7 separate regions of the Homo sapiens genome follow, and all the other regions are linked to region 6. The links are contacts of gene promoters, found by promoter capture Hi-C in blood cells and fetal thymus (Javierre and others, 2016). All regions are on one chromosome and are shown on one strand. The core of a region is centred on a gene start or on the middle of the fragment in contact, and the rest is flanking DNA. Distances in the headings are between cores, read along the strand shown. Region 1 overlaps LOC124901607 (a long non-coding RNA gene). Region 2 overlaps MTURN (maturin, neural progenitor differentiation regulator homolog). Region 3 overlaps LOC124901607 (a long non-coding RNA gene). Region 4 holds the start of LOC105375216 (a long non-coding RNA gene). Region 5 overlaps LOC105375220 (a long non-coding RNA gene). Region 6 holds the start of NOD1 (nucleotide binding oligomerization domain containing 1). Region 7 overlaps MINDY4 (MINDY lysine 48 deubiquitinase 4).

What was found. The method cuts DNA at HindIII sites, captures the fragments that hold promoters and counts their contacts. A CHiCAGO score of 5 or more calls a contact.
Region 1: a contact is called between a fragment that was not itself captured here and the fragment with the promoter of NOD1 in region 6, in 9 of 17 cell types (naive B cells, total CD4 T cells, total B cells and 6 more). The highest score is 11.9, in naive B cells.
Region 2: a fragment that was not itself captured here is called in contact with the fragment with the promoter of NOD1 in region 6 in 16 of 17 cell types (total B cells, naive B cells, naive CD4 T cells and 13 more); the score reaches 24.8 in total B cells.
Region 3: a fragment that was not itself captured here is called in contact with the fragment with the promoter of NOD1 in region 6 in 10 of 17 cell types (total B cells, naive B cells, non-activated CD4 T cells and 7 more); the score reaches 18.2 in total B cells.
Region 4: a contact is called between a fragment that was not itself captured here and the fragment with the promoter of NOD1 in region 6, in 11 of 17 cell types (naive CD4 T cells, total CD4 T cells, total B cells and 8 more). The highest score is 19.7, in naive CD4 T cells.
Region 5: a contact is called between a fragment that was not itself captured here and the fragment with the promoter of NOD1 in region 6, in 6 of 17 cell types (non-activated CD4 T cells, naive CD4 T cells, activated CD4 T cells and 3 more). The highest score is 9.2, in non-activated CD4 T cells.
Region 7: a fragment that was not itself captured here is called in contact with the fragment with the promoter of NOD1 in region 6 in 4 of 17 cell types (activated CD4 T cells, total CD4 T cells, non-activated CD4 T cells and 1 more); the score reaches 7.3 in activated CD4 T cells.

What each region holds. Positions count from the first base shown.
Region 1 is chr7:30,217,159-30,220,789 of GRCh38, reverse strand. The region is part of intron 1 of LOC124901607 (a long non-coding RNA gene); the gene reads right to left. Among named protein-coding and RNA genes, the nearest start is that of ZNRF2, 66 kb to the left of the region's middle. The HindIII fragment of the contact is 981 bases long and covers 1,439-2,419 here.
Region 2 is chr7:30,154,765-30,158,365 of GRCh38, reverse strand. It overlaps MTURN (maturin, neural progenitor differentiation regulator homolog), which reads right to left. Exons shown (of 3, transcript NM_152793.3): 3 at 1-928. The coding sequence ends at 818. Among named protein-coding and RNA genes, the nearest start is that of MTURN, 22 kb to the right of the region's middle. The HindIII fragment of the contact is 6,470 bases long and covers 1-3,601 here.
Region 3 is chr7:30,198,300-30,201,929 of GRCh38, reverse strand. It overlaps LOC124901607 (a long non-coding RNA gene), which reads right to left. Exons shown (of 3, transcript XR_007060274.1): 1 at 1-3,630. Among named protein-coding and RNA genes, the nearest start is that of MTURN, 65 kb to the right of the region's middle. The HindIII fragment of the contact is 1,416 bases long and covers 1,066-2,481 here.
Region 4 is chr7:30,130,894-30,134,765 of GRCh38, reverse strand. It overlaps LOC105375216 (a long non-coding RNA gene), which reads left to right and starts at 52. Exons shown (of 3, transcript XR_927146.3): 1 at 52-162; 2 at 1,311-1,449; 3 at 3,283-3,872. The HindIII fragment of the contact is 339 bases long and covers 1,603-1,941 here.
Region 5 is chr7:30,736,207-30,740,134 of GRCh38, reverse strand. All of the region lies in intron 1 of LOC105375220 (a long non-coding RNA gene), which reads right to left. Among named protein-coding and RNA genes, the nearest start is that of INMT, 14 kb to the left of the region's middle. The HindIII fragment of the contact is 4,303 bases long and covers 1-3,928 here.
Region 6 is chr7:30,477,338-30,480,961 of GRCh38, reverse strand. It overlaps NOD1 (nucleotide binding oligomerization domain containing 1), which reads left to right and starts at 2,178. Exons shown (of 14, transcript NM_006092.4): 1 at 2,178-2,356. RefSeq lists a silencer at 2,050-2,289 and an enhancer at 1,938-2,682. The HindIII fragment of the contact is 7,069 bases long and covers 1,733-3,624 here.
Region 7 is chr7:30,777,215-30,780,968 of GRCh38, reverse strand. It overlaps MINDY4 (MINDY lysine 48 deubiquitinase 4), which reads right to left. Exons shown (of 18, transcript NM_032222.3): 2 at 2,418-2,537. It overlaps INMT-MINDY4 (INMT-MINDY4 readthrough (NMD candidate)), which reads right to left. Exons shown (of 20, transcript NR_037598.1): 4 at 2,418-2,537. Among named protein-coding and RNA genes, the nearest start is that of MINDY4, 7.7 kb to the right of the region's middle. The HindIII fragment of the contact is 2,741 bases long and covers 84-2,824 here.

The sequences.
Region 1 (3,631 bases), core at 680-3,179, 260 kb after region 6:
CTTGTTGCTCTAACTTCTTGTCAGCATTTGGTGTTATCAGCATTCTGGATTTTGGCCATTCTAATAGGTAGGTGGTGTTATCTTGTGTTAATTTGCATTTCCCTGATGACACGTGATGTGGAACATCTTTTCATATACTTATTTGCTAACTGTATGTCTTCTTCGGTGAAGTGTCCATTAAAGTCTTTGACCCATTTTTACATCAGGATGTTTGTTTTCTTATTGTTGAGTTTTAAGGGTTTTTTTTTTTTATATATTTTGAATAAAGTCCTTTATCAGATATGCCTTTGCAAATATTTTCTTCCAGTCTATGGCTTATCCTTTTATTCTCTTAGCAGTGTCTTTCACAGAGCAGAACATTTGAATTTTAATGATGTCCATTTTGTCAGTTTCTTCTTTCATGGATTGTGCCTTTAGTGTTACATCTAAAAAGTCATCACCAAACCCAAGGTCATCTAGACTTTCTCCCATGTTATCTTCTATGAGTTTTATAGTTTGCATTTTACATTTAGGTCTGTGATCTATTTTGAGTTAATTTTTGTGATGGGTTTAAGGTTTGTATCTAGATTTATATTTTTGCATGTGGATACCCAGTTGTTCCAGCACCACTTTGTTGAAAAGACTATCTTTTCTTCATTGTATTGCCTTTGCTTCTGTGTTAGAGATCAGTTAGCCACATTTATGTGGGTCTATTTCTGGGCTCTCTGTTCCGTTTTATTGAGCTATCTGTCTATTCTTTCACTAGCACCACACTTTTGTGATTACTGTAGCTTTATAATAAATCTTCCATTACATAGGGTTGGTCTTCCAACTTTGTTCTTCTTCAATGTTGACTTGCTACTTCTGGGTCTTTTGCCTCTCCATATAAACTTTAGATCAGTTTGTCAGTATCCACAAATTAACTTGCTAAGATTTCATTGACTTCACATTGACTTTATAGATAAAGTTGGGAAAGAACTGACATCTTGACAACATTGAGTCTTCCTATCCATGAACATGGAACATCTCTTTATTAAGTTCGTCCAGGATTTCTTTTATCCAAGTTTTGCATTCTTCCTCATGTAGATCTTGTGCATGATTTGTTAGATTTATACCTAAGTATTTCATTTTTGGGGTAAATAGTATTGTGTTTTAAATTTCAAATTCCACTTATTCATTGCTGGGATTTAGGAAAATGATTGACTTTTGTATACTAACCTTGTATCTTGCAACCTTGCTATCATCACTTATTAGTTCTAGGAGTTTTTTGTTAATTCTTTCAGATTTTCTACATACATAGTTATATCATTTGCAAACAATGGCAGTTTTATTTCTTCCTTCCCAATCTATATATCTTTTTTTCTTGTCTTATTGCATTAGTTAGGACTTCCAGTTAGATGTTGAAAATAATTGGTGAAAGAGAACATCCTTGCATTGTTCCTGATCTTAGCAGAAAGCTTCTAGTTTCTCAACATTAAGTGTGATGCTAGCTGTGGGTATTTTGCAAATGTTCCTTATCCAGTTAAAGAAGTTTCCCTCTATTCCTACTTTGCTGAGAGTTTTATCATGAATAGATGTTGGAATTTTTCAGGTGCTGTTTCTGCATCTATTTATACGATCATGTGATTTTCTTCTTTAGCTTTTTGGTGTAATGAATTACATTAATTGATTTTTGAATATTGGACCAGACTTGCATACCTGAGATAAATCCCACTTGGTCATGGAGTATAATTCTTTTTATACATTGTTGGATTTGATTTGCCAAATTTTTTTGAAAATTTTTGCATCTATGTTTATGAGAAGTGTTGGTCTGTAGTTTCCTTTCCTTGTAATGTCTTTGGTTTTAGTATGAGGGTAATGCTAGCCTCATATAATGAGTTAGAAAGTATTCACTCTGCCACTATTTTCTGAAATAGATTGTAGAGAACTGGTATGATTTTTTCCTTAAATTTTGGAAAAATTCACCCATGAACCTACCTGGGCTTGGCACTTTCTGTTTTGGAAAGTTATTAACTGTTACTCAATTTCTTTAATAGATATAGGCCTATTCAGATTGTCTATTTCTTCTTGTGTGAATTTTGGCAGATTTTGTCTTTCAAGGAATTCATCCATTTTATCAGCTTATGAAATTTGTGGGAAGAGTTGTTCAAAGTATTCCTTTGTTATTCTTTTAATATCCACAGGACCTGTAGTGATATCCCCTTTTATTTTTAATATTAGTAGTTTGTGTTATTTCTTTTTTTTCTTCATTAGTCTGGTTTAGACACTTATCAATTTTATTATTGATATTTTCAAAGAATCAGCTTATGGTTTGATTTTCTCTATTGATTTTGTGTTTACAATTTCATTGATGTTTGCTCTAATTTCTATCATTTCTTTTCTTTGCTTACTTTGGATTGAGTTTGCTTGTTTTTTTAAATAATTTCCTAAGGTGGAAGCTTAGATTATTGATTTTGATCTTTTTTCTCTTCTAAATATGCATTCAATGCTATACATTTCTCTCTCAGCACTTCTTTCACTGCATCTCATAAATTTTGAGAAGTTGTATTTTCATTTCCATTTAGTTAAAAAATATTTTAAAACTTCTCTTGAGATTTCTTATTTGACCTATGTGTTATTTAGAAATGTGTTATTTAATCTCTAAGTATCTGGGAATTTTCCTGGTATCTTTATGTTGTCAATTTTAATTTAATTTCATTGTGGTCTGAAAGCAGACACTGTATCATTTTTATTTTTTTTTTAATTGTTAAGATGTGTTTCATGGCCCGGAATGTGGTCTATGTTGGTGTATGTTCCATGCGAGCTTGAGAAGAATGTGCATCGTGCTGTTGTTGAATGAAGTAGTCTATAGATGTCAATTATATCCAGTTGATTGATGATGTCACTGAGATAAGCTATACCCTTACTGATTTTCTGGCTGCTGCATATGTTCATTTCTGATAGAGGTCTCCGACTATAATAATGCATTCATGTATTTGTTTTTGCTGTTCTATCAGTCTTTGCCTCACATATTTTGATACTTTGTTGTTAAGCACATACACAATAAGGATTGTTTTGTTTCTTAAAGAATTGATCCTTTTATCATTATGTAATAACCCTCTTCATCACTGATAATTTTCCTTGCTCTGAACCCTACTTAGTCTGAAATTAATATAGTTACCCCAGCTTTCTTTTGATTAATGTTAACATGGTATATCTTTCTCCATCATTTTTCTTTTTTGTTTTTTGAGACAGGGTCTTGCTCTGTTGCTCAGGCTGGAGTGCAGTGACACAATCATGGCTCACTGCAGCCTGGACCTCCCCGACTCCCACCTCAGCCCCCCAAGTAGCTGGGACTACAGGTGCATGCCACCAAACCTGGCTAATTTCTTTTTAATTTCTTTGTAGAGACAGGATCTTATTATGTTGCCCAGGCTGGTCTTGAACTCCTGGGCTCGAGAAATTCTCCTGTCTTAGCCTCCCAAAGTGTTGGGATTACAGGTGTGAGCCACCATGTCCAGCCATCACTTTGCTTTTGACCTGTATGTGTCTTTATATTTAAAGTGAGTTTCTTATAGACAACATAGAGTTGAATCTTGCTTTTTGATCTGCTCTGACAATCTCTGTCTTTTAATTTATCTATTTAGACCATTGCCATTTAAAGAGATTATTG
Region 2 (3,601 bases), core at 940-3,439, 320 kb after region 6:
CGGCCATCTCATTAGAAAGAGAGAAGGTAAAATGTTTCATTTTATACGTGGGACGGCTTATAAACAGCTTTAAAAATCAATACATTATATCTTTCACCCCATCTATATTTTCCACTATAGACTTCAAAAGTGGCTTTGGAATTAGCATGTTTTGAAACAGTCGAACAAGCAAGTAACATTTACACCTAACCACGAACCAGTCGCTACATACCCAGGTAACTCAGTAATGGCAAAACACTTAAAGGCTTCTGGGCCTCTCTTACCCTCTTAGTCCAAAGCTAAGTGATTATCCTTTCCTGCCCTTGTATTTGCACTTGTGCAGTTTAATGACTAGATATTAAAATTCATGCTTTATAAGCAAAACCTTTCACTTACGGACACTTAAAAAGTACATAAAAAGTGCAGACTGCATTTCTTCTCTGCCATGCTTTCCCTCAGTAAGGTCACCTGTGAGGACTCAAAACCTATCCTTAATACATTCAGAGTTCTCTACATTCGAGTCAGCGAATGTTAATTCTCCAACATAAACTTAAGAGAATAGTCAGCCACAAAATGGACTCTAAATTCAAAATGGCAAAGGCTACCAAGACAACTCCATAGAAACCCCACTGAAGCGGGAGTGAAATTCAGGTCACTTCTGAGCAAAGCTCATCACAGATATTTTGTGGTCGTTAAAAAGGTATTTCATTTTAATTTGGATGCTGGGAGCCAGATGTCCTATTTCGAAGTGCTAATGCAAAATGCTAACCCAGGAGGGGCAGTGACCCCACCTAGGTTACTGTGGGGCTCACTCTCCTTCTCAGGGGAGCCCCCAGATTTACTGCTGGCTGACCCCCATCTGGGGGTGGTCCGCCTCTGGCTCCTCTTCTTCCACGTCAGCACTGTACTCTTCAAACGCATCGTCATCTGCATCCGGAAGCCCCAGTAACTACAGGGAGAGAACAAGAGAAAAGCAGCTGTGAGCGCCAAATGGCCCACAGGCAGGAAGACAACCAAAGGCATCGGATCCACATTAAAGAGTACTTAACCCAGCAGCTGCAGACTTCCCCGTCAACCACCCCTACAATGATTTTCATAAACTTGTTAGACGGAAATGTCAATCTTTCAATGGATTAGTGCCCAAAGGGCTAGGTTTTACTGGGGAGCCTGGAGAGTCTCTATTTTTAAGTATCAAAATGTGGCACCACATATGCACAGAGAGCTAGCTATGTGCCCACACACACATCTGGGATGTCAGCAGTCGTATGAAATGAACTGTGCTCACTGTCCCACCAAGATGTCAAAAACTGATTCTGTATTTTCTGTCCTAAAAACACACGGTGCTATTATTTATTGGTGCTATTATTTATAACACATTTCTAAAAATCTAGAGACAACTAAAATGTTCAACAGCAAAATGGTTATGGTGTTATTGAAATGGAATCTTATATATCCACTCAAAATGGCATTTTTGAATGACTTGATGACATTAAAAAGATGCACATAAGTGTAAAAAAAGCATGACAAAATTGCACTTTTATTATGACAGAGTTTTTTTTTTTTGAGAGGGAGTCTCGCTCTGTTGCCAGGTTGGAGTGCAGTGGCGCAATCTCGGCTAACTGCAACCTCTAATTCCCGGGTTCAAGCAATTCTCCTGCCTCAACCTCCTGAGTAGCTGGGACTACAGACGCACACCACCATGCCCAGCTAATTTTTGTAGTTTTAGGAGAGACAGGGTTTCACCATGTTGGCCTGGGTGGTCTCGATCTTCTGACCTTGTGATCTGCCTGCCTCAGCTTCCCAAAGTGCTGGGATTACAGGCGTGAGCCACCATGCCTGACCCAGAGTTTCTTTATATATGTGTGTATGTATATATATATTTTTAATAGAGACAGGGTCTCAGTATGTTGCCCAAGCTGGTCTCCAACACCTGGACTCAAGCAATCCTCCTGCCTCGGCCTCCCAAAGTGCTGGGATTACAAGCATGAGCCACCACACCTGACCCGGAGTTCTTAAAATTTATACACATATGCATAGAAAAAAGACTTCAGTAAAATACACCCCAATTTTAAGGTTTTTTTTAAGATTGTGAGATTATGGGTAATTTTTTCCTTTTTATCTTTTTGTATTTTCCAATTGCTGTATAATTATGTGGGACGTTCAAAATAAACATCGTTTTTTAAAGCACTGGCTGGTCTTTGGTTAGAAACCAAGTGCCATTTGCTAGGCCTGATCAGTATGAACACCACCTCCTGGTGCAGGCAAGAAGCCACAACCCTAGCTGTCGGACCTGCCTGTGATAACCAGGCTTCTGTCTCCTGGTGCCTTCATGAGATCTACAGTCTGTTTGTGGCCCAAGGACTTCTTACATAGGGGTGTCCAGGGCCATCAATTTCAAGCACCTTCACTGAGTGGCCCTAATGATCTAAACACTAACTGCATCAAGACAGTAAAAAGAAGACTGACCATTCTGTTCAATTGCATTGCCTCCCTGGTGTCCTGCCACCCCCTTCCTCTCTCACTCCCTCCACGGCTGAAATGGGGAAAGAGAAAGCAGAGTCCTGATGAAAATAATGCCTTCACTCTGAAGTTCTCCAGCTGCAGCTCTCCCAGGTCTCCCAGCACCCTATGAACACATTCAGGACAAAATCATCTGCTAGGCATTGTTGGTCACACTCTGCCTGTGGCTTGCCAAGGCGTACACAGTCAACTGCAGACACACGCTCGCCCCTTAGAGCTGAGCATGCCACAGCTGCCTCAGAGACTCTGCGGATGTAGAGGGGAAGGGCAGGAAGAGCGCTCTCAGCTCCCCGGAGAGGGTGCTCCAATCTTGAGTGTGCTTGGGAGAAGAAAGTCTCTTTTTCCGGCTCCTGTCTCCCTTGCAGATTTTAGTAAATGGAATAAAAAACCAAGTTTGCCTCTAAAGAGAGAAAAGATGACTAGTCGTAAGGCACGTCGATGACTACACTTGGTGGTCAATTTTTTATTTGGAGAGCTGCTCGATGACATAGCAAGGTAAAAGTGTCAAATAAGTGGTAACATTTAAATAGCTGGTAAAATATAAATACTATCGCCACCACCAGGAACTCCAAAATTACCTAAACAATATATATAATTGTTCATTGTATTGAAGGGATGTCACTAAAGAGAAATGACCAGTTGGTTCCCTCTCACTTAACAGACCTGACAGGGAGTGGCTGCCTGGAGTTTCAGGATTCTGAGGCCCCGTGGAAAACACTGTGGTCAACTAGCAATGGCTGTCCTGCATGAAAAGGGCGCAGCTGAGGTGTGCATCTGCATATTTGCCATCTTTATCCAAAAGAGATGTACCATGGGCGATTCTGTTCCATAACACCCCTAGGTGATTCATACTGACCCAAACCATAGGTAGCACTCAACACCCTCCCTCTCTTCAGCTTAGGGTACCTTATTGAAAAAGACCCAGGAAACCAAGCACATAGCCATGACCACCTCTCTTCTGCAGTTCCTTTTTCCAGCTCCCTACCTTACCTCAGATGAAACCAGCACATCTACTGACAGGTCCCCAGGCTGGAAGTTTTCTGACTGCTCTTTCAAGAGCTGCTCACTCACTGCCCTTCTGGAAAGGGGAGAGGAGAGGCAG
Region 3 (3,630 bases), core at 524-3,023, 280 kb after region 6:
TCCATGGAACCAGAGAAGGGCACAGCCCCCCACATCCCTTCCAATGAGACCTAGAACTCCCCAACTCTAGGCATCACGTCTCCCTCTCAGTCAGAGCAAAAGATTCCAAAAAGAAAAGATTCCAAAAAAGAAATCAAATATCTGTGGGCCTGTGGGCCTCAGCAGGTCACCAAACAACCCAGGACCAGTCTGAGTTTCCTTGTTTAGGCTCAGCAATGGTCATCTCATAAATGATCTGTAATGTCCTTCATTACAGATGGAGAAAAAAATGCATGAGTGCATGAGGGTGGTTTATAACAGTGGCAGCATACAGAGCGACCTGGCAGCTTTGTGGCCACACAATGATGGCTACAGTATGAGGAAGAGAGAACAGGGCTGGCTTTGGCATAGGAACCAAGGGGAAACGGCAGATCCCAGGGGCGTTCTTTAGGAAACGGCAGCAAGCCTGCTGATAGATGAAATGCATCGGAGTCCTTGGCAAAGTGGTTTCTATTGAATCTGAAATTGTTTGGGCTCTTTTGAAAATACTGGTGTTAATCCAAGTCTGTTGTTGCCACTGCATTTTCATTTCCTCTTCTCTCTTATATTTCTTGTTGCTTACATTAGTCCTGAATGGTTTACCTGCCATTTTTTACATAAGCAAATATTTTTAACCTCAGTGAGGTCACATCCTAACATTATTAACAGACCTTTTGTTCATTTTGAGTAAGAGAGAAAACTCCATTTTTCACATAGATCTTCATTAGACTTGAATAGAAAAAAAATGATTTGGTTTTCTCCTTTAAGATGTATTAAGCATCATATAATGCTACCATTCATTGGGGGTTCAAGTGATTTTGATGGAGCAGTGAATGAAGGGAACATCCACCCCAAACTGCTCCTCTCTTTATCCTTTGCCTTTTATTATCCTCCTTCCACACTACTGCCCCCAAAGAAAGTCACCCCACAAGTCAGTGAAAATCTGCCGTGGAACCTTCCTGAAATGGCACAGAGTCTATTCTCTTGCTCCATGGCAAATCTGTCATCCAGCAGTTGGTCATTTTTCCTCACCTATATAATGAAGCTTAAGATTTATTACAAACTTGGTCCAAAGCCTAATTTCTGTTCATAAAACCCTGTCATTCTTGGATGAACTATGCTGTTTTAGGGCCAAGATTGTAATGAAACACTGGCTTGGCTGTTCCCAACGGTGGGATTTAGGAAATCTAAGAGATGCTGTCTTCAACAGTGAACAAAGAGGTTTAGATCACCTGGAATCACTGGCTCTGAGCTGTTGGTGGAGTTAGCCTCCTTTTGTCCACAATGCTCACATTTCCAAGCCTGGATCCTCACATCTATTGAACAACTCATCTTGAGATGGGTCCCATGCCCTTATTTCAGATCTTTTGAAATTAAGTGGAAAGGAAGTAATCATCTTCCTTCCTTATCCTGCTGCCTTGGAACAGTTTTTCACCTCACAGCAGCAAATCTGTGGCAGCCACTTACTTCATTCATCTCCAGATGGGTCCCTTTATCTATAAATGTGTTACTGTAACATTTTCTAGACCATAAATGGCTGAAGACATCAGACAGAGCTGGCATAGAATGTAATAAAGAGTAGGGATTTTGCTTTATTCAACTTTATATGTTCTGTAGGCCTCAGTACCTAGTGGGTACTAAATAGCAGGTGGATGAAATAATGTAATAATGAATTTGCTACTGATTTTTCACCTGGAAAGACATTAAGGCACTTTACACAGTCTCCACCATCTTTTAGGGTTTTGAAGTTTGTGCTTGTATTTCAAAAAAGAAATCATAAATAAAAGAAACAACTTGGACCTTAGACAAAGCCAGAAAAACTCAGCTCTGAAATAAGTCGTGGCAACAACCCAGCCATTGATTTCTTTACCTGGAAATTTACAGGAATAATGAGTTGCTGCCTCCATAATGATTGCAAATTGCTGCTTCTCAGTCACTTAGCTTAGACAAGCTAATATTTTCTCTAACCCCAAACCAAGATGGTCAGAGCCACAGAACAATATATTGTAAGAAGAGAGGTGTGCCACACAACATTCCTTAAAGCGTGTTCCACCTAGCAGCATCACTGGGACCTATCAGGGTCAGAGTGTTCAGTGGCCAAGTGAATTTAGTTCACATCGCATATTATAAATACCCCCATCTTGGACATGTATGATGATGCACTGTTGCATATTACAGACTCTGAGAAGTTGACCTGCTAAAGAGATTTGATCACAGAATCCTATTTTCAAATAATGTCTATTACCTTTGGACAGAAGCTACTTTAAGAAAACACTGCTCTGCCCTGAAGGTCATCAATACCATTTTCATAAAGGTGAAGCAGGGATTTGCAACCTGCAATGTGTTTGTGCCAGAAATGGCATGCAGGCCCCTGGCTACCAATACATATTCCCTTCTCATGAAAGGTGACCCTGACCATCTGCCGTAGGAGTGTAGGCCAGAAGGACCACAAAGTAGGAAGCTTGACAAAGGCTGGCAACCCTGAGGTACAGCCAATAAGCCCCGGCTCAGGTTGAGTGTGCACTCATTCCTAGAGTTACAGCAACGTTCTGTTGGTCAGGCTGGACCCTTGGCCAGCCACAGGAATGGGCCACAGCCCTGGAAGCACATCTGACACTTACATCAGGGGCAGATCAGAGACTGGTGCATTTCCTGTAAATATTGGATTTGGGAAAATATTTGTGTTATTTGCTGTTACTTTGAAATAAGTCTACAACCTGTTAGACTAGATGGGGAAATATACATAGTTTTCACTATAAATTTCAAATAGTCTTACGGAGTCCTGATAAGATAAGTAAGCAACAATGAGGAAGGAGCCCCAGGTTGGGGAGAACAATGACCAATTTTTCTGAGAGATGGCTAGTCACAAACAACTGGTGGGCACAATGACATTGTTCCACATGTAGCCCCCTTCAGCATGACCCTATAAAACTTCCCTCCAGCCCCTGCCTATTTGCAGACAGTCACTTCTCTGTTGTGCTGCTCATTGCAACCTTGCAACGTATTTTCATAGCTTCTCTAATAAATCTGCCTTTCTTTATCTACAACTGTCTTGGTAAATTCCTTTATGGCCCATGACACCAGCCCCAGCTATTCGCACCTACAATATTTCTTTGGCTCTTACAGGGACCTCTCTCCCCTTTCCCTTTCTCTCTTCCAACTGGGGACCCTTCGTGGACAGCACACAAAAACAGAAACAACTGACAGTCTCTGGCAGGGCTATACCCTGATGAAGCTAGAAGGTGTCCATGTGGAAGCATCTTACCACCATCACCTGATCAGATGAGGGACCTTAGTTCAGTTTCTCCTTTTCAGTCTTCCAGCAGCCAACGTCTAGTATCCCTTTGTCAACTTACAGTAACTGGTCAGGGCTGCTCTCTGGTGTTGCCTGAAGTCCAGGGGGTAAACAGGGTTGGCTGTCTTTCCCAGAAGGGAATAAGGCTCTCTCTTATCCTTTCTAGTCAAAAGCCCCCAATCCTTACTTATAGCATGATTGGTGGTGAAAGCTCAACCAAGACAAACCTGCACATGTTCTGGGGAACTCGGACCACCTCTTTCTCACTCTAAATTCTCCCATGAAGACAGCCAGACTTCCTGCTCCAGGTGTTCCCA
Region 4 (3,872 bases), core at 523-3,022, 350 kb after region 6:
TGGCCATCGCGGTGCCGCCCCGGGCCGTGACGTCATGGGCCCCAGCCAATCACCGGAGCCTGAGACCGCGCCGCGGCTTGCGAGCCCGGTGACGTCACAGCGCGAGCCTGGAATCCGCAGCTCCGCGGGTTACCTGGAAGCGGTGCGAGCGCCCAATACCTGGTTAGCGTTTCTGTGGAGTTAGAAAGCCCAGGAAGCGTTTGCCCAAATGCGATTTAAATGCAAGGGAGGCCATAGAACTGCAGATAACTTGGACCTTGTCTGGGGCTAGCAGTGGAGGAGCTGAGAAAATCTAAGGAAAAGGGAGCTTTTCTTTTTGCAGAAACCAAAGTTCTGTTCTCCGATTGATTTAAGGGAATGTGTCTTCTTAATGCATTTATCAGACACTAATATGAATGTTCACTTGCAAAGGGCGTGTGTGATTTTTTATTTGCGTTACGTAAAGCTGAATATTTCTTAGAAATGAGCCTCATAAGACTGGCTTCAGTATTATTCAGCTTGAATTCACATTGCATAACCTAAAAAGGTCAAGAGGATAAAGCACATTTTAAAACAAGAGTGTGTGGCCCAACGATTGCACCTGTTGAGTGCTCACTGGCTGCCATATACTGGACAGGCATTACTGGATTGCAGAAAATGCACTAGGGTCCTCGCCCTCAGGACTTGAACACTACAAACACAGACACGTTATAAACATTCAGCCAGCTTTTTTCTGTAAAGTGTGTCTTCTGAACCAGGCACTGTGCACGAATTTACATTCCCACCAACACGTATATATGTTTCCTTTTCTCTGCACCCTCACCAACATCTGCTGTTTTTTGACTTTTTAATCATAGCCATTTTGACTGGTGTGAGATTGTATCTCATTGTGGTTTTAATGTGCATTTCTCTGATAATTAGTGGATGTTGAGCATTTTTTCATATGTTCGTTGGCCACTTGTATGTCTTTTTTGAGAAATATCTGTTCATGTCCTTTGCCCACTTTTTAATGGGTTTTTTTTTTTTCTTGTTGAGTTGTTTGAGTTCCTTGTAGATTCTGGATATTAGTCCTTTGTCAGATGCGTAGTTTGCAAATATTTTCTCTCATTCTGTAGGTTGTCTATTTACTCTGTTGATTGTTTCTTTTACTGTGCAGAAGCTTTTTAGTTTAATTAAGGCCCATTTGTCTATTCTTGTTTTTGTTGCACTTCCTTTGGGGTTTTAGTCATAAATTATTTGCCTAGGCCAATGTTGCAAGGAACTGAATTCTGCCAACAACCCGAATGAGCTTGAAAAGCAGATTTTTTTCTCAAACTTGTTGTCTTTTCCAGACAAGAACTGAGCCTGACTATTACCATGATTGCAGCCTTCGCAGAACCTGAGCGAGAACCCAGTGATGCCATGGCTGTGCTGGGACTTCCGACTTTCAGAACTGTGGGCTATTAAATGGGTGTTGTTTTAAGCTGTTAGGTCTGTTTAAATTCTTCATGCAGCAGTAGAAAACTAATACACAGGACAATGAAGGAGACAGGCACATGAATATAAAAATGCAATATGCTGTTGTAAAGTTACAAAATGGTCCTTAAAAAAAAAAAGTATGGGTGTCTCCAGATAGCACAAGCTTCCTTGCAGTTTTACCTGGCACCACCATTTAAAGCATAATATGTGTTCCAAAAATGAATTCCTTAAATTGGAGATGAAAATATGAAAAATACATTCCTTTTTTCCTTTTTCGGGAAAGAAGGAGTTTTTTTTTTAATCCATGTGTTTTAAAATGTATCAGTCAAATTTGCTCCAAGTGATGTGATCAGAATTATGAAGTTATGTTTATTTAACAAATAGTTTTTGTCAGAAAATGAAAAACTCTTATGAAAAATAAAATTTTGGGTACAAAGCAATTGGTCAATGAAATGGATACCGTTGGGTTTCCTTAGAAATGCACTGAGAGCAACAGCAAAAGCTTCAGAACTCCATGTCTGCATTGATTCCTCCCTCTGCCATTTTAAGTTTTATGTGCATCTGCAACTTCCTTCATTGCTCGGAGCTCAGTTTTCTTTTCTGAAAACAGGGACAACAGTGAGATAAAGTATATAAAGTCCTTATCCCAGAACCTAGCACATAGTAAGAACTCAGTAAATGCCATTATTACTCTTAATCTACTTCTTAGGGATGATGTGTAAGAAGATCAGCTAATGAATTTTTAAAGTGAAATTCAGGAGTGATATGACTGGTAATATTGGTCACAGATGAACCTAAATCTCATTTTTTTTTCCAAGTCTTTAGAGCAGGGTTTCTCAGCAGCAGCACTATTGATATTTGAAGCCAAAAATTCTTTGTTGTTGGAGGCTGTCCTGCACATTGCAGGATTTTTAGCCACATTCCCTGGCCTCCACCCACTGGATGCCTGTAGCATCTCCCTCTACCCTCCCCTCTCTCCACTGTGACAAGCAAAAATTTCTCCAGACATTGCCAAATGTCCCCTGAGTGCAAAATTACCCCTACTTGAGAACCACAGATTTAGAGAGAAAAGTCTTGCAACAGTCGTGTTTTGGTCATTTTTACTAACTAGTGGAAAGGGTATGCACATAAAGCAGCTGAAATTCATCCTGGAAAGTTCATCTGCAGAAGTTGCTTGAAATTTTGTTTCCTTAGAACAACTGGTAAAGCCACCAGTTGCTTAGCTAAGAAGATCATAAACCTTTGCCCTGCCTCCCTCCTGTTTGGGGAGAGTCCTGTGAGGCATCCCAGGTTGTAGGGGTGTATTTAGGCCTCATGCACAGGGCAGTGGTCATTTCAGAACTCTAGCCAGGTGTTTTGTGCAGCCAGTAGGTGAGGAAACACCAGGGCTACCCATACCCCCTTTCTTGTGTTCCCATAGCCTTTGGCCATGGTTTGGAAGTAGAAGGAAAATTAAAACTTCTCCCCAGCCAGGCGTGGTGGCTCACACCTGTAATCCCACCACTTTGGGAGGCCAAGGTGGGTGGATCACCGAGCCCAGGAGTTTGAGACCAGCCTGGGCAACATGGTGAAAACCTGTCTCTACTAAAAATACAAAAATTAGCTGGGCATGGTGGCATGTGCCTGTAGTCCCAGCTACTTGGGAGGCTGAGGTGGGAGAATCCCTTGAGCCCTCGAAGTCGAGGCTGCAGTGAGCCATGATCACACCACTGCCCTCCAGCCTAGGTGACAGAGGGAAACCCTATCTCAAAAAACAAAACAAACAGACAAAAAAACTTATCCCCACCAGTAGGCAGAGTTGTACAGTCTTCATTGTATTTAAGGAACGTTTCTGTTCATTTATAGAAATCTGGACTTTGCTGTCTCTGAAAATCACCATTTGCCTTTGGGAGATGTGTGTTGGCAAGAAGAGGAGACATATTCAAACCCCACTGGCTAGGACATCAGGAGCTCAGTATGGAATGCAAAGGCCACCCTAGACTGTCCTGCTAATGCTGACTCTTCTGCCCATCTCTGTTTTGAAGTTCTCCATGGCTTTTATTCTAGTGTAAGTTTGATGTTAACATATAATTTGACCTTTGATTCACTCCTATATTGTAAGTCCGTTAAATTAGCCCTAGTTTTTGATAAATCTGCTCCATCCACATAGCCTTGTGGTTATGCAGTAGGAGGAGGTAGGCAGAGAGGGAAGCGTAGCTGGTTCCACATTCACCCTTCACCTGAACGCAAGGTCGTCTCATTGTATCAAGAGGGACTGTAGACCCCAGGTTCCAGGAGACGGTGGTCAGGAGAGAGGTGTTTGATTTGTCACAGTTGTGATGGGAGAGGTGAAAAGACCATAGGATCTGGAGAAGTAACTCCCAGGAGAGCAACACAGGAGGGATGAGAGCTGTCTTCTCCCTGCACTGTGCTCCAGAACAGTGAGCCCAGCAGTG
Region 5 (3,928 bases), core at 607-3,106, 260 kb before region 6:
GGCACCTAATTTCTCCAGCTTTTCTCTCCAGGTGAGAGAGGGAGGAAGACCTACCTGGGCACTCTACCCAGAAAATATCCCCACTCCTTCTCTTACCCTGGCGTGGTGGGCTTTCTTCCCTTTGGTCTTTGAAGGTCTTCCCTGCCAGCTAGAACTTCCCAGGGCAAGGACTAAGGATGCCCTCTCAGATTCTTCACCTTGGCAGTTCCCTGTCTTGGCCTGGCAGGCAGTAGGGGCCTGGTGGGGGGGCTTGCAGCTGCTTGTGTGAAGAACCAGCTGGCTCTTTACGGCTGAGTTTTCTAGGACTGCCCAGAACCCTCCCACATTGCCTGCCCTCCTCCAGGCTCCCACCAGGCACATGGGAATGGGGATGGGGGTAGTTAGAGGGGTTGCAGGTTTCCAACTTGAGGCCCAAAGATGCAAAGTTACTTCTACAATGTCATTCACCTTCAATATCGCCAGCTGTAGTCAGTCAAAGGTTGGGTGGTGCCAGGGCAGGGGTTTTCACCCTGGATATGCATTAGACTTACCTAGGCAGCTGTAAAAGTCCTGAATCCTTGGCCTTACCCCAGACCAATTAGATCAGAAATTCTTGGAGATGCCACCCAGGCATCAGCACCTTGTAAAGCTCCCCTGGTGATTCAAATGTATGGAAGATTGAGAACTGCTGGCCTGGGCTGGTGCTTCTCAAACTGTACTGAGCTCACGAATTACTTGGGAGTCTGTCAAAATGCAGATTCTGAATCTGCAGATCTGAGGGGGGCAAATAATTTGCATTTCTGAAATGTCCCTAGGGATGCTGATGTTGCTGATCCAAGACCCATTCTGGGTACCAAGGGAACAGAGCACAAAGTACTTCCTTTCCACCTACCCCCAGCCCAGGCTTCACACTGTTAGTAAAGCAGGACTGTATGATAAGGTGTCTGAGTGTAGACCGATGATCCCTGATGTCCTAGATCCTTCAGGGCCTAGGCTCCTGAATGATTCGAAAAGGTCTTCTGAACCATGACGGAGCCATCTGTGCTGCCTCTATTGATATGTCATTGGGAGCATCCAAGAATCACTCACTCCTTCTAGAAGTTCATCTATAGAGCAGCTCTGTATTTCAGACCTACTTGCTGTCCTCTCCCCACCACTACAGTATCCAGCTGCCTCTACTGGCCTAGCCCGAGGACCCTCAAACTGAGCAGGTCCAAAGGCACACTGCCCATCTCCTGGTCCCCCAGCCTTGCTTCTCCTCCCCTCTCCCCAGCCCAGCAAGGACACTCCTGTGCAACCCTTATCCATGCCAGACACATGACTGCCACCCTAGCCTCTTCCTCTGTCACCGTTGGTCTGCACCACCAGCTTCCCCAGGCCTTGACATTACCTCCTAAACAGCTCTCAAATCCACCTAGTGGCCCTCATCGCCCCGCCACTGCCCTGATTCTGGTTCTATTATCTCGCCTCAGCACCTACCCCACCTCCAGGTTCTTGCTGTGTAAAGGGTGGTCCAAGGAGCAGCAGCAGCAGCATCACCAGGGAACTTATTAGAAATGCAGCATCTCGGGTCCCAGCCCAGACCTGCTGAATCTGATCTGCATTTTAACAAGCTCTCCAGGTGATTCATACATACATTAAAGTCTGAGAAGCACTGATCTAGAAATAGAGAGATGATGACAGGAAACAAGAAGGGAAAGAGAAAGCAGAAGAGAAGGGAGGTCCTTTTTAGCAGCCTCCATTCCTGGCTCCCTCCTCATATTCCACATCTCAGCTCAAAAGGTACCTATCCCTACTCTTACCACATAGAGTAGATGTTTCCCCCTCTCTTTCTCCATTCACTATCACATCACCCATTTATTTCCTTCATCTCACATGTTATTCTATTTTCTGTCTCTCAGTGACATAGAAATTCTGAGGCAGGAAACTGCTCTCCCTTGTTTGTGGTTGTGTCTAGTGCCTAGCACATGGTACATGTTGAATAAATAAATTGAATATGTGAAACTTATTATAGACTTCTGCTGCTGCAAACTTCACCTTTTGAACTAAGCAGTTTCTGAAGCCATCTAGTCCAATAGCTTTGTTTTATTCTTTATATCGCAAATGGGCCATGATGTAACAACTTGATGCTTTAAGCAGAACATCAAGACTTCAAAAAGCAAGCATGTACCAGAATGGGATCGATTGCAAAAACGACCACAGATTCTTCCCTTTCCAGTGGGCACAAGTCTTTGCAATATGACTTTGCCTCTTCTTCCATTAGGAGGTAGAGCTATTTCTCTCCACCATCTCCCTGTTCCTAATCTGGACTTGACCACATGACTTGTTTTGGCCATTAGCAAAAGTGATGCAAGCAGAGGTTTGAAAAGTGCTTACACACTGGAGCTTGTCCCCTCTCTTCCTTCTTGGTATTTACCCAAAGAAGTTGAAAACTCATGTCCACACAAAAATTCATGCACAAATGTCTATAGCATCTGTATTTATGAATTGATACAACCTGGAAGCAACCAGGATATCTGGGACTGCCCAGATAAATGCATAACTATAGTGCATCCAGACAATGGGTTATTTTTCAGGACTTAAAAAAACGATGAGCTATCAAGCCATGAAAAGACACAGAGGAAACAAACTTTCTTAATTGAAAGAAGTTGATCTGAAAAGGCTGCTTACTCTATGATTCCAACTATATGACATTCTGGAAAAGGTAGAACTATGGAGACAGTAAAAGATTAGTAGTTACCAGGGGTTTGGGGGAAGGAGGAATGATCAGGTGGAGCACAGAGGATTTTTATTTTTAGGTTAGTGAAACTATCCTATATGACACCACAATGGTGGATATGTGACATTATACATTTGTCCAAACCCATAGAATGAACAACACCAAGAGTGGACCCTAGTGTAGACAATGGAGTTTGGGTCATAATGATGTGTCAACATAGGTTAATTGATTATAACAAATGTACCACTCTGGTGGGGGATGTGAATAGTTGGGGGTGGGGACAGGGAACATATGAGGAATCTCTGAACTTTCCACTCAGTGTTGCTGTGAACCTAAAACTGCTCTAAAAAACAAAGTCTATTAAAAAATAAGCGCTTTCACAGTGGGACTTGTTCCCTTCCTTGCGGCTCTTAGGAACCCTGTGGCCCTCAGCGTATTAGTCCATTCTCACGCTGCTAATAAAGACATACCTGAGAATGGGTAATTTATAAAGAAAAGAAGTTTAATTGACTCACAGTTCAGTATGGCTAGGGAGGCCTCAGGAAACTTACAATCATGGCAGGAGGGGAAGTAAACACGTCCTTCTTCACATGATGGCAGCAAGGCGAAGTGCTGAGCAAAAGGGGGAAAAGCCCCTTATAAAACCATCAGATCTTGTGAGAACTCAGTATCACAAGAACAGCATGAGGGTAGCTGCTCCCATGATTCAAATACCTCCCACCAGTCCCTCCCACGACCTGTGGGGATTATGAAAACCACAATTCAAGACGAGATTTGGGTGGGGACACAGCCAAACCATATCACCCAGCATGTGGGAAAGCCCAGACTGGCCTGCTGGACACTGAGGGCTGTGCCATGCCATTGCCCCAGCCAACATCAAGTCACTGCCAGACATGTGAATGAGGGCATTGCAGACCCCCAGCCCCAGCCAAGATGCCAGCTGAGTGCAGAGAGTAGCCCAACCAGCCCTGACCGCTGTGCTGTCCTGACCGCAGCATGGCCCAGCCAACCCACAGCATCCTGAGAAATCATAAATGTACTAAGCCTCTATTTTGAGGTGAGTTGTCACTACACAAAAATAACTGAAATACAGATAGCTTTTTCAGATAAGGACAGCAGATTGAGCACATTTGAGCCTCGTCCTTCCTAAAACCCCACTAAATGGACAATAAGTAGAGTATTTAAAAGCAATAAACTGGTAATGACAAGTGGGAGAGGAGACAACAGCAA
Region 6 (3,624 bases), core at 929-3,428:
GGGAGTGGAGGCAGAGGAAGAATTGGGACCTGGCTCAGCCTGGCGAGGAGCAGCCTGGGGAGGAGGGGAGAGGTTAGATGGGTCCATAGAAAAGGAGGATTCACAGGACTCAGAGCTTGGGGTGGAGACTGAAGGAACAGACAGGAGAGAAAGAAGATTTGGGATGAGTCACATTGGGAGCAGAGATTAGGAAGGGACCAATGTGTAAAAGAATGCCTGGACATCAGGCACCTCAGACTATTTGCCCATTTTACGACAATAATTATCTAGCTCATGTAGGATGGAGAAATTGAAAGTGCCGTTTTCTGGCTATTTGGAACCATTGTTGAGTCTGTATTGGGGTCAAACGGTATTGCAGAAGAAAATAAGGCGTTTAGGTTTTAGGTCAGGTGTGAGTTGAAGAGGTTTTAAGTTCTTGAGAACACAGGCTAAGGGAGAAGAAGGGGGAATGGAGGGTGGAAGGTTGCCCATAGTGAAGGAGGCAAGCCCAGAGAAAAGAAGGTAGAGACCCGGAGAAGGGGGGTGGTGAGCAGCCCTGGGCTGCAATGTGGCTGAGCAGCCAAAGCAGGCGACCCACAATTGACTTGCCACCAAGGGAATGTGGGTGAATGACCAAGGCAGGCATCCCCACGGTGATCAGACACCAATGAAATGTACGTGAATAATCAGGCAGGTGTCCCTGCAGTGATTAAACACCAAGGGACGACTGTTTTCCTGAGTCCGTGACCGGAGCTGGAGTTTTGGGTCCATGGATAAAATATGTCTCCTTTGTCTCTACTAGAGAGGAGAAAGAACTGGAATTGGAAATAGAGGGAGATTTAAGGGTAGTGAGAGAGGCTGGAGAAGACAGTGAAAAGACCGCTTACCCGATTTGAAATTGGTGAGATGTTCCTTGGGCTGTTTGGTCTGAGGACCCGAGGTCATAGGTGGATCTCCTCACAGAGTGAGGGTGAGGACAGGGGACTGGTCTCCTGAAGGAGTCCTCCTGTCCCGGGTCTTCGGCACCAAATGTCACACGTGTCCGTGTGAAGAGACCACCAAAAGGCTTTGCGTGAGCAATAAAGCTGTTTATTTCACCTGGGTGCAGGTGGGCCGAGTACGAAAAAAAGAGTCAGCAAAGGGAGTTAGGGGTGTGGTAGCTTTATAGGATTTGTGTGGGTAGTGGAAAATTACAGTCAAAGGGGGTTGTTCTCTGGTGGGCAAGGCGGGGGCCGGGGGGGTGGAAGGTCTACAAAGTGCTCAGTGGGGGAGCTTCTGAGCCAGGAGAAGGAATTTCACAAGGTAATGTCATCAGTTAAGGCAGGAACCAGCCATTTTCACTACCTTTGTGATTCCTCAGTTGCTTCAGGCCATCTGGATGTATACATGCAGGCTTGGGCTCAGAGGCCTGACACAAGTTGGCACATTTGATCCTATCAACTTTAGTTTGCACTTTCACTTTTGATTTAAGAACATACTTTCTGTTTCTCAGAGGGCAGCCTCTGATGGGAATTTTAATACTCACAAGCATCAGTGGCTATATGATTGAATGTACTTCTTCAGTGTGAGTAAGTGACAACTTTCTGTAGCATGATATCCCTTATGGACACGATCCCCATTCAAAACGTTTTAAAACTATTTTATTGGGGACATTTATTAGCATGTTAAAACTCTTTTACAACCTATTAGAGCATATGCATAGAACATAAAATGTACACTGCCAAGAACAAATTTAAGGATAGGAAGAAAAGCTTACATTTTTTAAAAAGTATAAATTGAAATGTATGCAGTGTAATTTAAATTTGATTACGTTAACCTCCATTTCATCAGGACCACGTGTCGCGTTTTAACAAGAGTTTCCCTATCATGTCCAGGCTTTGGCTCTGGTTGCAGGCGCTGGGTAGGCACTTTTACGAGGAGGGACCTGGCACGATGGCACCACAAATTCCCAAGTGTGTCACCTCTGGGCGAACTTGGGCCTGTCCACTCGGCCCTGCGCGGTGGCCAGGGGCTCACCCTCTCGCACCGGGCGTCCCTCTGCGCGCAGCTTCTCTCGCCCCCCCGCGCCAGACCCGGGCGAATGGCAGCACCGTGGGACCCTGCCTTGACCGCCCCCGCCCTTCGGCGGCCTCTCCCAGCAGCCGGCAGGCTCTTGGGCGCGCCAACAGAGGGGCGCGGCTGCGGCTGTAGTCGCAGCCAGTTCCCGTTCCGGGCCCGCGAGGCAGCCGCCCCGGTCCTGCCCCTCCCTCGCGCTACTGCGGGAGCAGCGTCCTCCCGGGCCACGGCGCTTCCCGGCCCCGGCGTCCCCGGACCATGGCGCTCTCCGGGCTCTTCTCTAGCTCTCAGCGGCTGCGAAGTCTGTAAACCTGGTGGCCAAGTAAGTCCCAGCGACTGGGGATTCGCGCGGGGCAGGCCCTTTCTGAGGTCCTGGGCGCTGCGAGTGAGGAGGCGCAGGGAGGCGGGATTTGCGTGCGGGCGGAACGCAGCGCGGCTCTGGAGGAGCTCTGGGTGGAACCAAGCGGAGAAACCCGCGAGTTTGAAGCATGTAGCGAAAGTTGAGAGGGATGAACTTCACAGTCAGCGGAATCGTTTATCCCACTGTGGTCGAACGCAGGGGTTCTCAATCGTGCCAGCAGCTTAGAACCACCTGGGGAGCTTTTAAAATCCAGATATCCAGGCTGCACCCTAGATCAATTCCATCAGAATCTCACGGAGTCAGACCCAGGCCTCCGTATCTTTTAAAAGCTCCCCAAGTGATTCCAGTGTGCAGCCAGCGTTCGAGGGTTTGTGGCAAAGGCTGGAAGGGCAGACAGGGGCCTTCATGGAGTCCCGCCTGCAGACGGGACAGCAGCTCCCAGTGTCCTGCTTGGTCCTGGAGAGAGGGTGAGAACTTCCCTTGGGTTTCATGCTCCACAAAGTAAGGAAATGAGACAATGCTTGGCAAGGTCGCCTGAATATCACATTCAAAAACGCCTCCAATGTGTGCAGTTGTTTTGGCACATTGTGAAAAACATAGGAAATGACAGAGGTTGATGTCTCATTAGCTCTGCATTCTAGGAAACATTTCGGTTGTTGGTGTTTGAAATTAAGTCTGGGGAAGCTAAGCTAGTAAACCCATGGCCTTGATGACTTCTGGCCTTTCTGCTTTAAGGGTGAAGCCAGGGCCGGGCGCGGTGGCTCACGCCTGTAATCCCAGCACTTTGGGAGGCCAAGGCAGGCGGATCACCTGAGGTCGAGAGTTCGAGACCAGCCTGGCCCAACATGGTGAAACCGTCTCTACTAAAAAAAAAAAAAAAAAAAATTAACCGGGCGTGGTGGCGCATGCCTGTAATCCCAGCTACTCGGGAGGCTGAAGCAGGAGAATTGCTTGAACCCGGGAGGCAGAGGTTGCAGTGAGCCGAGATCGCCCTGTTGCGCTCCAGCCTGGGCAACAAGAGCAAAACTCCGTCAAAAACAAACAAACAAACAAAAAACAAAAAAACGGTGAAGCCAGAAGTCGTGCTTGCCAAAGGGTCGAGTTTGTTCTCCCTCAAAGCCCCTGTTGAAGATTGAACTATCACTTTCAGGGAAGAGTAAAAGAGTAACTCCACGATGCATCTTAGAGAGGAGTGGATTCCCTGTTCTCACCCAGGCTTAGATGCCAGG
Region 7 (3,754 bases), core at 205-2,704, 300 kb before region 6:
AGACAAAACCCGGGACAGTTTTACTATTCTTTTCAGTAAGAGATTAAAAACAAAAACTATTTTGTCTAAGATTAAATGAAGCTTACAATAAAGAGAGTTAGGGGAAAGATCCTATATTTATTGTAGCCTTCTTGCTTTTTCTCTCAGTAAGAGAGACTTAAGCCCCTGAATTGCCTGACTATCCCTTATGCTTTTTCACATCACTTGGCTCACAACAGACACAGCCTTTATATGAATCTAGATATTGTTTTTCAAAATCTCAATTTACATAGGCATTTTTATCTATCCTATACCTAAGAGGTTAGAACAAGTTACTAGAAATATTAACATTAAATTGCAGGGCTTTCCTGGAATCAGGCGAGCTTTGTGCTGAATGAATGTCAAAATTATTATGTAGTAGATATTAATGAGTAATTTTCCTGTAAAATATACACTCCGATTCATTGTATAACAGCTAATAACTGCTGTATAAATCAGGGCACTTATCAGTATCTCATGAAAATATCTTAAGTATCTTAAGATAACAACTACTTTAGGGAGACTATATTACAATGAGGGAATAAAAATAGCTTGAATGTCAAAGACACTTTTGGGAAATTAGGTAAGGTACATTTACGTTAAAAGCCCAATGTAACCAGAATGGTTAACTGAATTTTCTGGGTAGTTGTCTCACTCTCTGCGCAAAATTCTCCTAAAGTGTACAGTCCACTCTCCTGCCTTAGAATACAGCAGACGGAGGATTGCAGAGCATCTGCTGCCTGGGTCACCAGTCTTTCCACAGGACTTAGAAAGTACTTGCTACAGGACAGGAGACAGAGGTGCCTGCATGTCACCCCAGGACCCAGAGGACAAAGGCCTTCTATTTGATGTCTTCACTGAGCCTCTGATAGACTTCACGGGGCTGCCATTGCCTACTTCTCCTCAAAGGGGAGCAAGAGAATTTCTGGCAACCTGAGTGCTCCTGTAGGTGCCAGTTGTTTTTAGTTTATATGTTTGCCTGAAATTCCATCCTTTACTTTATTGAGAGATGCCTGGCATAGGTTCCTCCCTGGCCTATGACATGTACTTGCGTAGTTTTCAAGTGGTTCAGTGGATCTTCTGGGTGTCTTAAAAAATAGCCTTGGTCCTACCACCATACGAATCCAATCTGCTGAAGTCTCATTTGAAAAAAGGATTACAGTTAAAATATGCTTGATCATCACTCCTACAATAGAATTGGGAATCAAAACACCTGGTTCTAGCCTCATCCCTACCTGGTAACCGACTGTGAGACCTTGGATAGCCAACTCTCTCTGGCTCACAGCTCCCCCTCCTGAGAGAAGGGAATTGATCAGTGGTTTAAAGCTGGACGCTGAGAGGCTAGACGATAAAGCAAGACCTCCTTTTCCCCACTTCAAATAGGGCATTTTCCCTTCTTTGCTTTGCATATTGGACTTCCACATGAGATATCATTTTATTGCTTTTTTAAAAAATTGTGATAAATGCTGAACTATATCATTTTCTTTTTGACTCTGACACTATGCCCAACCACACAGCAACATTTGCTGGACAGCCCATTCTTTTTCTGTCTTCATAACAAATTAAAAATTTAAGTAGAAAGTGTAGTTTCATTCATTCGTATAGTCATTCATTCATTTATTCCACAAATATATTTCACTATGCCATCGGACAACACTTTATGTTTGGGGATAAAATAGTGAACAAAAAAGACTGCATTTCTGGCTTCTGCTGTGTCCAAGGTATTGGCGGGGGGCAGATACTAATTTTAAAATCACATAAATATTCTATTGCCAATGTGATAAACACAAAAACAGGAAAACTAGAGGGTGCCATGAAAGCCTATAATAGCAGGTTGGGGGAGATCAAGTCTGGGGGATCAGAGAAGCCCCCTTCCCGCCCAAGAAAACACAGTTCCATTTGCTTTTCCAACTCTAATGCACCTGGGTTAGCTGAACCCAATTCCCTCCTCTACCTAAATTATATGTCACAGGAGACTCAAGACTAAGGTATTACTCAGAACTGAAGAAGGAAACTCTTACATAAGCAGGGCATGGAAAATTTTAGTATAACTGGATACGATATTCTTAAGTACAGTCTTACTAAAAATAGCCTCATGTTGGGAGGAGGGAGCACAGGGAATAACTGCGGGAGGCTGAGCACTGCCACAGGCTCTGTTCAAAATGAGCCCGACAACCACACACACACAACACGCCAATGGGCGGCACCAGCTGACCGAGATGGAAAACCCACTCCCGCTGGGGATCTGTCCACATTTGGGGGGTCCGTTTCTCTCTGACCGCAAGTGTGACAGGCCAGGAGAACCTCAAGCCTCTCCTGTCACTGGCAGGGCCCATGAGTGCTTTGGCAGTGCCAAACTCAGTTCCAAGACTCCACACCACACCTTAGAAAGCACATACCTTGTTCTCCTTATAGAGAAATTCAAGATGCAAAACCTTTCGAAGATCATTTCTGTTGTTTATGCTGAGGTCAGAGCGTGGGCGTTCCTGGTCCATGGTCACACATGTCTTCTTTAAGCCCTGAGGGAAGAAAGCTGAATCGCTGTTTACCATCTTAAATCAAAACCCGCTGTTCTCATAAAGCACAAGCAAACGATTCCTGATGTTCACCAAGATAATTCTCATATAACCTTTACACTTGACATCACCTTTGCAATAATTAATATTATTCTGATTCTTACAACAGCCCCATGGGCTAAGTGAAGGCTGAAGTTTTCAGGCCATTTCGCAGATAAGGAGTGAGTTCAGGACTCGCGCACAGGAGTCCTGGGTTTGGCCCTACATTTGGAACCATAGTATATGAAGCTTTAAAATTAAACAAAAGAAAAAATGTAAACAAAAGGCTAATATTCATTCCCTTCACTCTCAGATGGGGAAACCAGGAGATGGGGTTGACTTGCCCAATGTAACACAATGGAATCACATCACAGGTGGGGGCTGTAACCATCCCAAACTGTGAGTCCATGACTCTGGGACCCAGGCCCATGAGAAGCTCTTGGTAAATGCTAAGTCATGAGCAAAGCCACTTTCCATCATCCCACCCTGAACTGCCAGAAGACCAAGGTTCAAGGCCCAGCTGAGACATGCTCTAGCAATGGAAAATCTGGGGTTGGCGAAGTGAGGGTCCTGTTCGCAAGTGCCTGGCTTCTCTATTTGAAAAACAACCACAGCAGTTGCTCTCTGCCCACCTCACTGGGCCATGGTGATTGTCAAATGGCTGGAGGCTGAGAACATGCCTCACCAACAGCTCAGCCTGGTGTTAGGGGTGTTCCTTGTTCTTAATGGATTCCAGACCCCCAGTGCTACACAGGCTTCAGCCTCTCCCAGAGCCTTTGTGTTCAGAATTTTACAGAGGCTCTAGCTGCTGGGGAAACATGACAAAACCCATGCCCACCATGAATTTAGCTAAGAAGGTCAATTTGGGAAACTAAAAGAACACAATCTTGAAACAAACAGAGGAAAGAGGAGGCCGTAGGGAAGGGAAATGGAAAGAAATGGATATATGGGTCAGAAAAAAGGTGGATTAGGTGCATCGGGAAGAGTCCATTTGAAGGAGAGGTGGGGTTCAAAACCAACCACCCGCATTTCATCTGGGCTTAACCATGGCTTTCCCTCCAGTCAAAGTGATGTGGAACATGCTATAACGAGGCTCTCTCTGATGGATAATTCTTTATGTCTGTCAACAGTTCAAATCAGCAAGCCCTGTACATTTAACAAACCCCACCCCTACCCTGGCT